4 separate regions of the Homo sapiens genome follow, and all the other regions are linked to region 2. Evidence: promoter capture Hi-C in 16 types of primary human blood cells and fetal thymus (Javierre and others, 2016). All regions are on one chromosome and are shown on one strand. Each heading gives the region's core, a stretch centred on a gene start or on the middle of the fragment in contact. The rest is flanking DNA. Distances are from core to core; before and after follow the strand shown.

The links. Contacts are between HindIII fragments. The CHiCAGO score rates a contact against its expected background, and 5 or more counts as called.
Region 1: a fragment that was not itself captured here is called in contact with the fragment with the promoter of EXOC7 in region 2 in 4 of 17 cell types (activated CD4 T cells, M1 macrophages, M2 macrophages and 1 more); the score reaches 6.5 in activated CD4 T cells.
Region 3: a contact is called between a fragment that was not itself captured here and the fragment with the promoter of EXOC7 in region 2, in 1 of 17 cell types (naive B cells). The highest score is 5.5, in naive B cells.
Region 4: a fragment that was not itself captured here is called in contact with the fragment with the promoter of EXOC7 in region 2 in 6 of 17 cell types (activated CD4 T cells, M0 macrophages, M1 macrophages and 3 more); the score reaches 6.4 in activated CD4 T cells.

The regions. Positions count from the first base shown.
Region 1 is chr17:76,442,248-76,445,985 of GRCh38, forward strand. The region is part of intron 1 of UBE2O (ubiquitin conjugating enzyme E2 O); the gene reads right to left. Among named protein-coding and RNA genes, the nearest start is that of UBE2O, 9.0 kb to the right of the region's middle. RefSeq lists enhancers at 746-865, 2,540-2,699. The HindIII fragment of the contact is 3,138 bases long and covers 779-3,738 here.
Region 2 is chr17:76,101,176-76,105,285 of GRCh38, forward strand. EXOC7 (exocyst complex component 7) reads right to left here and starts at 2,612. Exons shown (of 19, transcript NM_001013839.4): 1 at 2,458-2,612; 2 at 2,186-2,251; 3 at 504-688; 4 at 96-201. The coding sequence starts at 2,517. The HindIII fragment of the contact is 3,319 bases long and covers 65-3,383 here.
Region 3 is chr17:76,463,587-76,467,580 of GRCh38, forward strand. It overlaps a transcript of AANAT not described here. Among named protein-coding and RNA genes, the nearest start is that of AANAT, 2.0 kb to the right of the region's middle. The HindIII fragment of the contact is 3,070 bases long and covers 218-3,287 here.
Region 4 is chr17:76,394,647-76,398,616 of GRCh38, forward strand. It overlaps UBE2O (ubiquitin conjugating enzyme E2 O), which reads right to left. Exons shown (of 18, transcript NM_022066.4): 11 at 3,826-3,938; 12 at 3,609-3,737; 13 at 3,153-3,242; 14 at 1,482-2,175; 15 at 1,079-1,215. Among named protein-coding and RNA genes, the nearest start is that of SPHK1, 12 kb to the left of the region's middle. The HindIII fragment of the contact is 6,073 bases long and covers 1-3,970 here.

The DNA of each region.
Region 1 (3,738 bases), core at 1,098-3,597, 340 kb after region 2:
ATCTGCTCTTCCTAGTATTAGGATGCCCATACGTCCCAGTCCTGGAGTAATTATTCATAGTACTCTCAAAAGAACCCAACTTGGGCAATAAATTACTGTACATGGTCAACACACCTAGTACGGGGGGTGGGAGACAGAGTGGTCTAGTAAGGGGCCCATACAGCTCCAGCACAGACCACAGGGCATCTGGAAGAAGACTAAGAATACTATTTGTAGTAAGTGGGAGGGAGCAAACTGGTCATTCATGAAGATGTTTCCCAAGAGTCTGCATGTGCGTGATAGCACACAAGCTTTAGGATTTGCTGTCTCTGTTTCTCAAGGAGCTTCCCATCCAGGAGAGAATGTGGGTGTGCCATGGGGCATGAGAGGAAGGGAACGGCACAATTGAGTTGGGGAAAAGCAGTCAGATTGGCTGGAATCAACTGAAGAGGCAGGAGATAGAGCAGGATGTGTAGGTGAGGGGCCCTGAATGACAACCAAGGCATGATCAGAGGCTGGGTCCTGACACAATCCAGGCGATCACTTGGGAGGTCAGCCCTTTGGAGGTCAGTTGGCGGCAGCGCTGTTCACTGGTTGAAGGAGGACTAGAGGCAGGGAGACCAGGGAGAAGGCTACACAGTGCAGGCATGAGGCAAGCAGAGAGCAAACCAGGGTTGTGAAAGGGAAATGCAGGCACAGGATGCAAGAGGCCTCTCAAAGAACTGATGACAAGTTAGAATGAGGGCCAAAGAAGGTAAATTAAAAATGACCCCAAATGCTCTAATTTTGAGAAGATTCAAGCTTAGGTATTTAGGGGTGAAGTGCTATCATGTCTGCCACTAACTTAGCAGGAGTTAGTACCAGACATAATTCAGGAGGAAATATATTTACATAAGCATACAGATAAGGCAAATATGGCAGGATGTTAACAACTGCTGACTCATAATGGTTGGGGGTTAGCAATTACTGGCTTTCAACATTTTGGTATGGTCAATATTTTTTCCTATTAAAAAGTTGGGTCTTGGGTTCAGAACCAAAAACAAAAAAAGTTGGGGAATATATATATATATTTTTTTCCTCGAGAAAGAGTCTCACTCTGTCGCCCAGGCTGGAGTGCCGGGGCACGATCTCGGCTCACTGCAACCTCTGCCTCCTGGGTTCAAGCAATTCTCCTGCCCTAGCCTCCCGAGTAGCTGGGATCACAGGCACCCACCACCACGCATGGCTAATTTTTGCATTTTTAGTAGAGATGGGGTTTCACCATGTTGGCCAGGCTGGTCTCGAACTCCTGACCTCAAGTGATCCACCCACCTCGGCCTCCCAAAATGCTGGGATTACAGGCGTGAGCCACTGTGCCCAGTCAGAACATTTTTTTTTTTTTTAAGTCCACAGACTTGGGGATGGGAAGGGCAGTCACAATCACAAGATTTTATACCCACAAAGTCTACATGGCACAATGGAGCTATCAAGTAAGCAGCTGGGCATGTGATGTCACTGTGGAAGTCACCTAAATACAGGTACCAGATGCAGCTACAAGCAGGGAGGTCACTCCAAAAAACTGGGGAGGAAGAGATAAAGAAAAGAGAGGTCTTTGGAAAAGCTGCACATCTATGGGTAAGAGGAAGAAGACAAAAGGCAAAAAAGAGAAACATTTGGTATAGTCTGGTATAATAGAACCCCAAGGAAGGAAATACCGTTAAGAGGGCATGGTCGGCCAGGCGCGGTAGCTCATGCCTGTAATCCCAGCACTTTGGGAAGCTGAGGCGGATGGATCACCTGAGGTCAAGAGTTCGAGACCAGCCTGACCAATATGGTGAAACCCCGTCTCTGCTAAAAAGACAAATATTACTCGGACGTGGTGGCGGGAGCCTGTAATCCCAGCTACTTGGGAGGCTGAGGCAGGAGAATCGCTAGAACCCAGAAGGCAGAGGTTGCAGTGAGCCAAGGTTGCACCACTGCACTCCAGCCTGGGCGACAGACTGAGACTCCATCTCACAAACAAAGCAAAACAAAACAAAACAAAACAAAGAGGGTGTGGTCAGCTAGGCACCGTGGCTCACGTCTGTAATCCCAACACTTTGGGAAGCTGAAGTGGGAGGATCACTTGGGGTCAGGAGTTCGAGACCAGCCTGGCCAATACCATGGTGAGACCCTGTTTCTACAAAAATATTTTAAAAAGCCGAGTGTGTAGTTCCAGCTGCACAGGAGGCTGAGGTGGGAGCACTGCTTGAGCCCAGGAGGCGGAGGCTGCAGTAAGGTGTGATCACGCCACTGCATTCCAGCCTGGGTGACAGAGCATAAGGCTGATGGATCAAAATGAGGACAAGGACTGAGAAAATGTCAGCAAATGCAGTGATCAGAAATTCACTAGTCATTTGTGACCTTCAGGGGAGCCGTCACACTCAGTGGTGTGAGAGGTTAGACAGAAAATGACTGAAGGCGAGAGCAGGTCATGAGGAAATGGAGGCAGACATCCATTTCCCCCAGTACAGTGCTGGGATGACCCAAAAGCACACTGGGGGACCAGAGAAATGCTTTCTTCCTTGGCTTGAAGATGATGTCATCAACCTTCAGGGCCCTCAGAATCCCTTAAATAATAAAACAGTCAGAGCACATGAATACCGGGATGCTTTCAGCACTGCATATGTCAAGCCCTGAGGCTCCCAGAATCCCTGGAGACGTATTTGTGTGTCTACACTTCCCACCTGCACTAGCGGTGACCACACACACAGTCCGGTGACCACACACACAGTCCGCTGAATCTGCCGGTCAAGGTATCTATCTTCAACTGCCCTCTTCCAGAGGGAGCTCCCACAAAAAGGACCAGAATTAAAAGGAGGAGGAAGAACATCATCGGAGCTGCTGAGTGTGAAAAGACCAGCTCTCTTGCAGGATGCAAATGAAGGCCTCTCTTTTTAAGGGTGCCTGCAGGAAATCTCTCTGTCAGTGCTAGCTGGGAATATTCATGTCATTGTTGGGTAGGACTGACTGCCTTTTTTTTTTTCTTTTTCCAAGCATGACTCAGTGTTTTAATTTTTTTTTTTACTTTCAATTATCATAGTCAGACTGTTTCCCAGGTATAGTTATGCTATCAATTTAAACCAAAAGTGACCTGAAAAATGTCTTACTCCTTTGACTTAGCTGCAGAATATTAAATATTGCTGTGGCCTCTCTAAAAATGCAAACCAACTCAAAATCCCCCAACCAAAGAACCAGATTAAACCCAAAAAGGACATTCATTCCAATCCTTATTGCCCACTGAATACTTCTGAGTGGTATGTCAACTGACTGCAATGTTTAAACCATAAAAATGTGCTTTTCACAATACTGCTTCAGGAGAACACAGCCTACCTGTGTCTAGGGGTGACCTGGACAAAGCTGACCCAAGGATCCATCCAATACAGTCAGCCTGGATTGAAGGACATTAAATCCTCAATCACAGAGTATAGCTAACGAATGAAACAAAGGCAAATAACTTGGAGTAGATAAATCCAGAGAGTTATCCAGTAACACAATTCAATTTTATTCTCAACTACAGCAAATTCCAATAAGCATTTTGCTCTTCCCTGGCTATAACTGCACACATCAAGTGGCTCCTGACAGAGTCCCCCCGTGGCTGGCTGGAATGTCAGAAGATGAAGCAATTCCGAACGGGCACTCTTGCTCAGTAAGAGCTGCAAATGTGGATGGGCAGCATTTAGACCATGACCTTCTCCAGGACTGGCACCCATTCATGGGCAAGTGGAGCCTCAGGAAGGA
Region 2 (4,110 bases), core at 1,362-3,861:
CTGCATACATCCTCAAGCTGGCTCCATGTCCCTCATGAGACCAGGGCAGAGACTGATATCCCCAAGCTTCTCACGTTATTCTGCGGACCCCTTACCACTTTGTTGAGTTCCGGGCTGTCTGGGCTGTTGTCCTGGAAATACTCCACTGCCTTCTGAATCTTGGCCATGCTTCCCAGGTACTCTTCCAGCCTACCTGTGGGGCTGGGAAAGAAAAGAGCCAGGTCAGGCTGGGGCATGGGGGATGAAGAAGGACTAAGGACACAGTATTTGGGAAAAAGAAAATTAATACAGGGGACTCCAGGCTCAAATATATTCTATCCCCCCACTGCCTTTTAAGGCCTAGGGCTTAAAAGGCGTCTCACTGTGTTGTCCAGACTGGTCTTGAACTCCTAGTCTCAAGCGATCCTCCCACCTCAGCCTCCCAAATTGTTGGGATTACAGACCAACCCTCCTGTTGGCCCAGGAGGCATTAGGAATTGACCCTCTGGGCCTCACTCACTCACCCCTCTCTGATGATCTTCTCAGTGTCACTGGCCACATGGTAGTAGCTGATGACATGGTCCAGGCAGGACAGCGTCTTCTCAACATTCTCCTGCAGCCGCTGCAGATTCTCCGTCTGCTTGTGCACAGGGATGATGGAGTTCTCCAGCTTCATAAGGCGGCTCTCAAAGGATGATAAGATAGACACCTGCGGGAGGGAAGCCTCTTGATCTTGGGACTCACAGTGGTCCCAGCACTGCTTCTACACACCCACCTTCGGCATTTCCTGCCTTTTCTCTGGTTTTCTAGACAATAAACTCCACAAGCGAAGGAACAGGGTGTACCTGTTCCCCACTGTATCTTCAGCACCTATCATGTGCCTGGCATATAGTAGGTGGTCTAAGACAAATTGGTTGAAATTTTATTTGAAGGCAAACCAAGCATCAAATTAATTCTTCTTAAAATAATCAGCCCAAGATGGCTTCCCTTCCACCCTTTGAAGCCAAATCTCAACTTCTGTTCTCTCTGAAGCATTCCTAAACCGGACTGGAAGTAGTTTCATACAGAGTAGCCTCAAATGCATTGCTGTATCTTCAAAACCCTCTCTAAGGATGAAACTCATTGAATAAGGACTAGAGGCTGGGCGTGATGGTTCATGCCTGTAATACCCAGAATTTGGGAGGCTGAGGCGGGAGGTTAGCTTGAGACTAGGAGTTCAAGACAAGCCTGGACAACACAGTGAGACCCTGTCTACACACACAGACACACACACACACACACACACACACACACACACACACAATTAGCAAGGCGTGGTGGTGTGTGCCTACAGTCCCAGCTGCTAGGAGGCCGAGGCAGGAGGACTGCCTGAGCCCAGGAGTTAGAGACTGCAGTGAGCTACAGTCATGCCACTGCACTCTAGCCTGCACAACACAGCCAGACTCTGCCTCTAAAAAAAAAAATTTAAAAATTAAAATTTTTAGAAAAGGACTAGGACTTTATTATTGTGTGACTAAATGCAAATACAAGTTTGTATTTACTCACTTTGTGCTTTTCCAGTCTCCCCTAGGAATAAAGAAGGAAACTCACTTATTGAGCACCTATTGTATACCAGGCACTGTGCAAGATGCAGTCGCATGCATTAGCGCATATGACCTTCACAGACACACTGGGAGGCTGGCACAGTCTCTGTTTTAGCAGATGAATTCGCTGACACCAGTTACCTATCAGGAGCCGCACATTTAAGCAGAAGGGCAAGGACTAGATCCCAGATCTGCCTGACTTTAGAGCTCTTTCTTTCCCTAAAGTCCTCTGGAGTGAAGGCTGAGTCTTCTCTGCCCTCAGGAATCTCAAAGTGCCAACCTCCTGGGCAGAGAGTCCACTGACAATGACATATGCCCAGTACCTAGCCCAACTGGTCAGACTCACTGAGTGTTTGCAGAAGGAGAGAAGGAAGAATGGCGAGCTTAGACAGAAAGCAGCAAGTCCAGGCCAGTGGGAAGTGCAGCCTCCTCAGTGAGGGTACGGAACATGGGGAGGGGGCTAGGCAGGAGAGATGCCAAACTGTTGCTAGATAAACCCACACACTGCCTCCGTCGCTGCCCATTCCAGAACTCCAGGCCGCAGGAACCGGAACCGCCAGGTCGCAAGGCTCTCCCCCAGGGTCCGGAGGCCTGCCCTCTCCCCCAGCTGCGGGGAGACTCACCATGTTCTTAGTGAGCTGGTCGCTCTTCTCCAGGCTGTCTCGGATGAAGGACAGAGTCTCCTCCTCCTGGGGGCAGGCAAGGGGAGGACATCACCAGAAACCAGAAGCTAAAGGAGACCACTGCGTCCCAACCCCACGGCCTAGCCCCCAACCCCATCTCCTCGCTGGGTGCGCTCCCTCCCACCCCTGCCTCCTCCATGAGTAGACAATCAGGCCCCGCTGTTGGCCCCTTTCCCTCACCTCCTCCCCAGCCTCCCCAGGCCCACGCCCACCTGCTTCAGCTTGTCCTCAATCTCCCGCCGTCGAGCGGATGCCTCCTGTGGGGGAATCATCGCTCTGAACCCCGCGGCTCCCACTCCCCAGTATCTTTCCTCCGCGGGCCCACCGGGCCCCCGTCCCCGTCACACCCACTTCCGCTCTTGGTCCCGCCCCGGGACGCCTGGGCGGAGCCATGTTGGGAATCGCAGGCTGAAGTGCGCCTGCGCGGAGCCCAAGAACGGACCGACGGCCATTTTGAGCGTGGCTGGGAAGAGAAGTGTATTCGGATGCTGCAAGGGACCTCGACGCGGGTTCCTTGCCTCAGCAGAGGTTTTCGATCGGCCTTATGTCCCGCGGCTGGCAGGACACTTAGAGCTCACTTGCTGTTTTCGTTGAAAGACCGACCCTTTTGATAAAGACTGCTGGGGAAGGCGACGAATTCCTTTCCCCAGGTCGCATTCTATGGGCAGGCACCAAGGCCAATTGCGTTTCCCACAAAGCCCCGCACGGAGCAGGTGACACAGTAGATGCCTAACGTGTGTCCATGTAATGAACCAGGGGCTTGTGTACTTGTTTCCGCCTTCCACCCTGCATTACGCAAAAACGTATCCTGTGGGCTGGCGGGGCTGCTCCGGAGCTCCAGGCCCAGACCCAGCGTCCAACTGCAGCTCCAGGGGACGGGGTGGGGGGCGCCCCTGGATCAACTTCCCTGCGGGGCTGGATGTTGTGGTTGCAGACCCAGCTCCTGCAAAACCTCGAGTTACTCCTTCCTCTAACCCGTCCCTGCCCACCCTGCCTCTGGCCCCCAGCCTTGAGAAAGGACAAGGCCGACCAGCTTGGTTCAGTCCTTCTGTGGCCTCAGTGTCCAGACACCCGGAAGATAGACAAGGAGGCATGTGCTGGTAGATGAGAAGGTTTGGGGCGGGCAGGGGGGACACCAAGCTTTTTTTTTCCTTTCTTTTCTTTTGAGAGAGAGTCTCACTCTGTCGCCCAGGCTGGAGTGCAAGTGGCACGATCTTGGCTCATTGCAGTCTCTGCCTCCCGGGTTCAAGTGATTCTCGTGCCTCAGCGTCCCGAGTAGCTGGGATTACAGGCGGCTGCCAACACGCCCGGCTAATTTTTTTGTATTATTAGTAGAGACAGGGTTTCGCCATGTTGCCCAGGCTAGTCTCGAACTCCTGACCTCAAGTGATCCACCCGCCTTGGCCTTCCAAAGTCCTGAGATTACAGGCGTGAGCCCCTGCTCCCGGCCTAAGGAGAGAAGGAGAGAAGGAAGAACCCAAGCTCTAGGGTTCCCAAGCGCTCACTCCACCCATAGTCACCCGAAGAGGAGGAGGAGGAGGAAGTGGGTGCACAGAGCCTGGAGAGGGATGGGCAGCCTTCCCTCAGGCAAGAGGACAATTTCAATCCTGTTGTAGGTGGGGGAGATAAAAGGCTGATTCCTGTGTCAGGAAATACCCAGGATGATTTCGCTGACATGGTCCTTGTGTAGTCCAAAGGGCTAAGTAGGAGAAAGTTTAAACTGTTAGATGTCACAGAATAGAGTAGCGGGGCTAGTTAGCCGCTGTAGAGAGGGTGTTTTGGGCTCAGGTGGACTACCTTTGAGGGCCTGGTCCAGCATTTAACCTGAGTCTCTCTCTCTCTCTCTTTTTTTTTTCTTGAGACGG
Region 3 (3,994 bases), core at 503-3,002, 360 kb after region 2:
TGTGAGCCACCGTGCCCGGCCTTTTCTGGAAGGATTCTTAAAGGTCATCGGAGCCTCCCTGTTGGCAGAATCTGAGATCTGTTCTCCATTCTTTGTGGCATTTCAGGCTCTATCTGCCCCATTTCTTGGACATTCTCCCCTGGGTTCTTCCCTTCTTGTGGCTTCACCTGTGTTCCTGTTAATAACTCCTTTCCCTGCTAACAGTGGACATCCCAAAAGCTTGGTTCTCAGCTTTCGTGTGGTGATACACATCCTCTCAGAACCTTTTTTACTGTCATGATATCAGTTATCCGCTCAATAACTGTCGTCATCATCCTCACCACATCTGATTAGGAGTGGGATGGGGGCTCTGATGGGTCAGAGGTGAGGCTCTACCAGGGCAGGTGGGGAGTTAGGTAGCATGGTCCCTGGCAGTTCTCTGTGTGCCCTGGACAACCCCTCTCCAAACTGCTATAGAATATTCTGGAGTCCTGCCTGGGTGCGGTGGCTCACGCCTGTAATCCCAACACTTTAGGAGGCTGAGGCAGGTGGATCACCTGAGTTCAGGAGTTTGAGACCAGCCTGACCAATATGGCGAAAGCCCATCTCTAGGAAAAATAAAAAAAATTAGCCAGGCATGGTGGTGTGCGCCCGTAATCCCAGCTACTTGGGAGGCTAAGGCAGGAGAATTGCTTGAACCTGGGAGGCGGAGGTTGCAGTGAGCCGAGATTGTGCCATTGCACTCCAGCCTGGGCCACAGAGCAAGACTCTGTCTTAAAAAAAAAAAAAAAAAGAATATTCTGGAGTCTTGAAGTGGAAGCCCAGTCACAGACCATGATTTTCATGGGACCGAAGAGCCTTTTGGGAGAAAACTGAACCCCATCTGGCATTTGAAATGTGTAAATCTGTCTGGGAGATCGAAAGAGGCCAGGCTGGGTGGAGAGACAGGGGGACCCCTGAGGGGAGCCATCATGGGTGAGGCAGGGTGGCATGGTACACACTGGGCAGGGAGTCGCGGTGGGTGAGTTGTGGATACAGGACTTTCAAGGGAGCTGCTGCTGGAGGGAGAGGCTGGGAACAAAGAGCCTCGGCCTCCCAAAGTGCTGGGATTACAGGCATGAGCCACGACGTCAAGCCATTTCTGTGGTTTACAGTCATCCAGTTTGTGTATCATCTGTTACAGCACCCCTGGGAAACATACAGATGCCAGCTTCTCCCTGTCTGTATCTATATATTTTTTTTTTTTGAGATAGCAGTTTCACTCTTTTTGCCCAGGCTGGAGTACAATGGCACGATCTTGGCTCACTGCAACCTCTGCTTCCTGGGTTCAAGCAATTCTCCTGCCTCAGCCTCCCAAGTGGCTGGGATTACAAGCGCCCACCACCACACCTGGCTGATTTTTTGTATTTTTAGTAGAGACGGAGTTTCACCATATTGGCCAGGCTGGTCTCGAACTCTTGACCTCAGGTGATCCACCCGCCTCAGCCTCCCAAAGTGCTGGGATTACAGGCATGAGCCACCGTGCCCGGCCTTGCCCATCAGGTTAGGTGTTTATCAGCTGTCTAGAGTGACTGAACAGGTACGACTTGGGGGGCAAAGGACACATTCTCCCCCCCATCCCCAAGATCCACCTGAGAGGCAGTCACCAGAGGCGTTGCCAGCACTCTTAACTGCAATAGCAGGACAAGACTGGGCATCTGATAAACAGTGCAATCGGTGTCCCTGGCGTGAGGATGATCTCGGAGGTGCTTCTTTTTTAGAGCCCACCTGAGGTCAGGATTTTTTTTTTTTTTTTTGAGACAACATCTTGCTCAGTTACCCAGGCTGGAGTGCAGTGGCTCATCACTGCAGCCTGAACCACCTAGGCTCAAGTGATCTTCCCACCTCAGCCTCCCAAGTAGCTGGGGCTACAGGTGTGTGCCACCATGCTTGGCTGATTTTTAAATTTTTTGTAGAGACAGGGGTCTTGCTATGTTGCCCAGGCTGGTCTCAAACTCCTGGGCTCAAGTGATCCTCCTGCCTTGGCCTCCCAAAGTGCTGGGATTACAGGTGTGAGCCACTATGCCCAGCCCCAGGGATCTCCTTCTCTCTGTACCCATCACCCTGTTGGGCCCCTCACCCTCCTTATTTTCCTTCTCATTGGTGGTGGTATGTGGTTTTCTTCCTGTTGACCAGGACAAAGGTCCCAGCGATCACCCTGCCCTCCCCTGTCTCCTCTCCTGTCCCACAAGGGTTTGAACTTCCCAGTTTCACCATGTTTAACATACCGCCTCATCTTTAAAAAAAATTTATTTTTATTTGTATTTTTTTGAGACAGGGTCTCGCTCTGTCGCCCAGGCTGGAGTGCAGTGGCGAGTCACTACAGCCTCGACCTCTCCGGCTCAAGCCATCCTCCCGTCTCTGTCTCCCAAAGTGCTGGGATTACAGCGGTGAGCCACTGTGCCTGGCTTACTGCCTCATCTTGTTCCCTGAGGTTCTAGACCTCTAGGGTGTTGTCCGGAAAGAACAGGGCCATGTGGAAGTCAGCAAAGAGAGAGGCCGATTGAACAGCAGGCTCTTCTCAGGCATCGCCAAGTGACTGATTAGGATTGGCCACCAGGGGGTGCCATGGAGCCACAGTCTATGAAGGGACAGAAGAGGCCTTTTGGGGGACCCTGGAGGTTGAAGGTGGGGATGCCCAGCTGAGGTCTTGGACATGACCACCCCACCAACCAAGCCCAAGGAGGTCTCTGGTCGGTCCTGAGAGGTCTGTTGAGGGTCCCTTCTAGCAGGCAGGTGGGCCTCAGAGTGCAGAGGGGCCCTGGGAGAAGGGGACCCAGAGACAGGAGGAATGCATGTGGTGGGTGGGCGGGGGCATCGGGACGGGGTCACTCCACGGTCAGGGGCTGTGTCCCAAACCGTATGGGTAGGAACAGGAGCTTCCTCTGCGGGGGGGTCGAAAGAGTGCACCTGTGAGGACACTGAAAACCAGCAGGAGAATCATGAAGACAGGAAACAGGAGTCTCATTGTGAGATGAGTGGGTCCCACCAGTGCAGCCGTGGCAGTGCATGTCAGGAGGCTGACCCGGCTTTGCCCCTCCCCCTTCACTTGTTGGATGGCTCTGAGCAGGTTACTGAACCTGTCTGTGCCTCGGTTTCCTTCTCTATAACGTGGTTAATACTCATTTGGCCGGGCTTCCGTGTGGATTAAAGGAGACGCGTATCCAGGGCCCGGCACATAGCAAGTGCTGTAAGCAGTGGCACTCACAGGCTGCCAGGACAGGAAGGACCCTCAGAGGTCCGTCCCAAGCTGTGTGGGTAGGAGCAGAAGCTTCCTCTGCAGGGGGTCAAAAGAGTGCACCTGTGAAATCCAACCTCCAGGACCCCCAGGAGCCCGAGATGGACACAGGATCTGCACTGCTGGGTGGGGCGGAGAGGCAGGTGCTGGCGAGAGAAGAGCTAAGGGGTGCAGGATGGGGTGTGAGCTGGAGGGCAGGGGGTAGTCAGAGCCAACAGGGAGAGGGGCCTGCATCCCGAGGGAATGCCAGCACCAAGTGCCAAGGCCTGGGCAGCCCTGGGAATGGGTGGAGCCAAGGTCAATAGCAGAGAGCTTTGTAGTTGAGATGTTTGGTAGGGCAACCTCCTGAATATTTAAATATTTAATTAAATTAAATATTTAAATAAACTTGAAGTAGAACGTACTTAAAGTGCACAAATTGGTAGCTTGAATTCCCACCCCCTCCCCCCACATAAGAGGTGGGCTTGTCCAAGACTCCGAGGGACAGAGGGAGAATCGCTGGTGCCCAGCCAGTCGGTGACAGAGCAGGGATTAGAGATGGACCCCTGAGGCTTAGCCCCACGCTCTCTTCCCCAAACCCTGGGGCCTCAGTCAGCCTCTGGTAATCCCTTCTGTGCCCAGGGCACCAGAGCTGACGTTTCCCTTCAGCAAGGCAGGGGCCGAGGCTGCCAGAGCCCTGCTGGCGTCATCCTGCCTGGGATAGCTCGAGAGGTGGGGTGGGGGGATTACAAACCTCTA
Region 4 (3,970 bases), core at 295-2,794, 290 kb after region 2:
AAATAATGTAAAAGTATAAAAAAAAGGTCATCCGTTTGGAAGGAGACCCACTAAACTTCCAACAATCCTCTGGGTGTGGGAAGAGGCCTATGATTCGGGGAGAAAGGGAAGTGAGGTCTGGTCAAAGGCAACTTTAGCTCTTCCATTTCCACTCAAAGGATCTGTAATGTTCTAATTTTTCAAAAAGAAAAGTAGGCTTGAGGAGTAATCATAATATAATTAATTTCAAAGTAATTTTTTTTTTTTTGAGATGAAGTCTCGCTCTGTTGCCCAGGCTGGAGTGCAATGGTGCGATCTTGGCTCACTACAACCTCTGCCTCCCAGGTTCAAGTGATTCTCCTGCCTCAGTCTCCCGAGTAGCTGGGATTACTGGCACCCGCCACCACATCCGGCTAATTTTTGTATTTTTAGTAGAGACAGGGTTTCACCGGGTTGGTCAGGCTGGTCTCAAACTTCTGACCTCAGGTGATCCACCTGCCTCGGCTTCCCGAAGTGCTGGGATTACAGTCGTGAGCCACCGCACCCGGCCTATTTCAAAGTAATTTTTTTTTTTGAGACAGAATCTCGCTCTGTCACCCAGGCTGGAGTGCAGTGGCGTGATCTCGGCTCACTGCAAGCTCCACCTCCCAGGTTCACGCCATTCTCCTGCCTCAGCCTCCAGAGTAGCTGGGACTACAGGCGCCCGCATGGTGGCGGGAGAGTTTTTTGTAATTTTTTTTTTTTTTTTAGTGGAGACGGGGTTTCACTGTGTTAGCCAGGATGGTCTCGATCTCCTGACCTCGTGATCCACCCACCTCGGCCTCCCAAAGTGCTGGGATTACGGGTGTGAGCCACTGCGCCCGGCCGAGAAAGTAATTTTTTAAAGGAGGGAGGAAAGAAAGAACCATCTGGCCTGGACACACGGCTGAGTCAGCCCTCACCTGACTGAGCCTGTGACCGCCCCTGTAAAAGGTGGGTGGGTGAGTGTCCTCGCAGGTGCCAGTCAGCCCCGGAGGTTTGGGGACCCAAGGTTGGTGGCCTCTTGGGCACTGGGTGCCCACACAGCACATCTGCACCTGCCCATGCCAAGCCTACTTGCCATTCTATCTTCAAAAGTCTTGACCATGATGCCCTCAGGCAGTGAGGTAGCCAGCAGCGCCATCTCCTTCCGCACTGTGCTGAAGAACTTCTTGGCTTCTGGAGGCTGGAACTCAATTTTCTTAAAAGAATGATTTGCTAGAGGGGGGAAGAGAATAGTCAGTCCCTCATGGAGAGGCCCTGGAGCTCCATCTGCCAACCTGGCTGGACAGGTGAGCACACCCACAGACTTCCCACTCGCCGCTGCTGGCCTCAGCACTGTGACCACACAGGGAAATGGTTTGCCCTGGGGCAGTAGCTGGGGTCTGGCGAGGGGACTAACCACCCTGCACCCAGATCTGGTGACACAAACAGGAGCCCCGAGAAGGCGGGGGAAGGCGAAGACCAGGCAAGGGCTGACTCACAGGGTGCAAACTCCAGTACGGAGAAGACCTCGCCCTTGGCGCTGGTGAAGGTGACGCCAGGCTTGCCGCCACACTGCTGGCACAGCACCGGGGTTTCGCTGGGCCACTCAGCCTTCACAGGTGACTGCCCCTCGGGCTTGTCCTCCTTGCGCTCTACGTCGGGCACTGCTTCCATCTTCTCCTCCTCTACAATGGCCACATTGTCCAGGGTCTTCTTGAGGTTTTCCTGTAGCTTCTTGATGTCATCCAGAAACTTCTTCTCCCGAGTTGGCTTCTCAGGCTCCACAGTCGGAGAGGTGGGCGAGCCCGTCAGCAGCTGCTCCACAGTCATGTTCTTGAGGCTCTCCAGGATCTTGATGGCCTCTTTCAACTCCCGGAAGCTCTTGGGTGGCCCGTCCTTGCCAGCCTTCTCCATCAGCCCGGCCATGGGGGCAGCCATGGCCACAGCCCCCTGGACGGCAGCTGTGGCTGCCTCTTCACTGATCACCACTCCCTTGTCCTCAGGGGCCACCGGCTGCTCCAGGGGTGGGATGGGGGGCTCCTCTATCTTGGGGTGCTCGTCCTCCACCAGCCCATTGTCCGTCTCCCAGCTGTCACTATCATCTTCCCATTCATCCGAGGATGCCCCGCTGGTGCTGCCTTCTACCGAATCGTAGTCTGACTCCTCAATCTCAGACTCTATGTTGTACAAGTGCTGGGGGCAGAAGGGAAGTGCCAGGGTAAGCAGACAGGAAGTCACCTCCCCACCACTAAGGAGGAGCTCTGGGGATCCCTGATCCGCACAGCTGATGGCGACTGGGCTCATGAGGCCTTGGCAACCTCATTCCACCCTTTCCCTGACCTCTGCTCTGGCTTTTGCAGTCCCTAGGTCTCTGGGAGAGGCCCTTCACCTGTCCCACCCTCCAGCTGGACCCAAAGCCCCAGCCAGTGGTCTGTTCCAGCCTCTCCTCCTGCTCTGTGCACTTCGTCAGCATCTGTCCAAGGCGTTAGGGGACCTTGGCAGGCCCAGTCCCACACCTGAAAAGCGCAGGGTCAGCTAATGATGCAGCCAAGGAGGCCTGTGTGGGGAGCTGGGAACATATGACAAGAGGGGACATGTAGAAGGGCCGACATATCCTGCTGCGTTCCCTGGAATGGCCGTTAAGGTGATGGGGCAAGCCATTCCCGCCCCCACTCCTGCCCCCTGTGTGGACCAGGAGAGGAGAGCTGGGCTGTGTGGCTCCAACCAGGAGGCGAGGGAAGGAGAGCCCGTGTAGCCCTTCTGCTCAGGACCCAGCAGGTGGGGCTAGAACTGGGTCGGCTCTCTCCTTTCTCTCCTTCTCTGTTAGAGCTTTCTAAAAAGGGTGGTAGGAAAGTCTCCATCTCCTTTTAGGAGGGAACTTGCATTCTTCGTAGCATAGTGAGCTGACAATCCAGGAAAATCCTGGAGGTTTGTGAAAGTCTACATGCACCCAGAGATGGACGTGAAGAGATTGCTGGGAGAAGCGAGGCTGGTGGGCCAACTGCAGGCCTGCACCAAGGGCTGTGTGGAATGCCTGCCTTTCCCCTCACGCTTTCGCTGAGATCTCACCAGGAAGACCTGAGAGCCCATCTTCTGGCTACACGCCTGTGGCCCCCGGCCCAAGTTGCCATAGTCACAAGCTCAGCAGGGGGGTCTTGCCAGAGCCTCACCTGGGGCAGGATGATGGTCTTTGAGTTGTCAGCCCACACCACCTCCACCTTGCTGCTGACGTCCACACGGGCCACCTGGCCCACCGATGGCTGCTGGGCAAAGGGGACAAAGTCAGGGGGCCCAGCTCAAGCTCCAGCTCCCCAGCCCCTCCTGTGCTCTGCAGTGACTGACATCATGCCCACCTGGCTTGTGACAAGGAACTTAGCTCCTCTGGTAAATGTAACCAGCGGCAGCTCAAGAAGCCTGACCCCAGAAGGGAGGCAGGGAAACAAGTCCTTCTGCAGCTGCTAGTGCTGAGCGGCAGCTTGACTCTGGGGCAGCTGCCCTTCTGAGGACACTGAGCCCAGAGGACTTTCAGGTCTTGTCTCCTAGAGCCACCTGGTGGCAGCATCAGGGACTGCAGCTGGTGCACAGGGCAGTGAGCAGCCATCCAGAACTTGAATTTGAAGGCGTACCTCATCCTCCTTGTGAGGAGCCCCATCCTCAGTATTGCCGATGCGGATGACGATGTCAGTTGTACGGAACCTAAAGTCAGGGTGGTCAGCAATGTCGTAAACACTCACATCTTCCTCTTCTCCAATCAGCTGTGGCACAGGACAGGTTGTCATGAGCTAGGGGTCCTACACCCAACCCCAGAGCCCACCTGAAGCAAGCAGTAGGGGCTGCACACACCTCCACGTCGTCCCCACTCGGCCTCAGCTTGAACCACTTCACCATGCAGGTACGGCCGATGTGGTCCCCAGACTGTACCACACCGTAGACAGCAGGGTCTGGACAGCTCTGGACTAGGGAACCAGAGAAAGGGAAGTGACTAGCT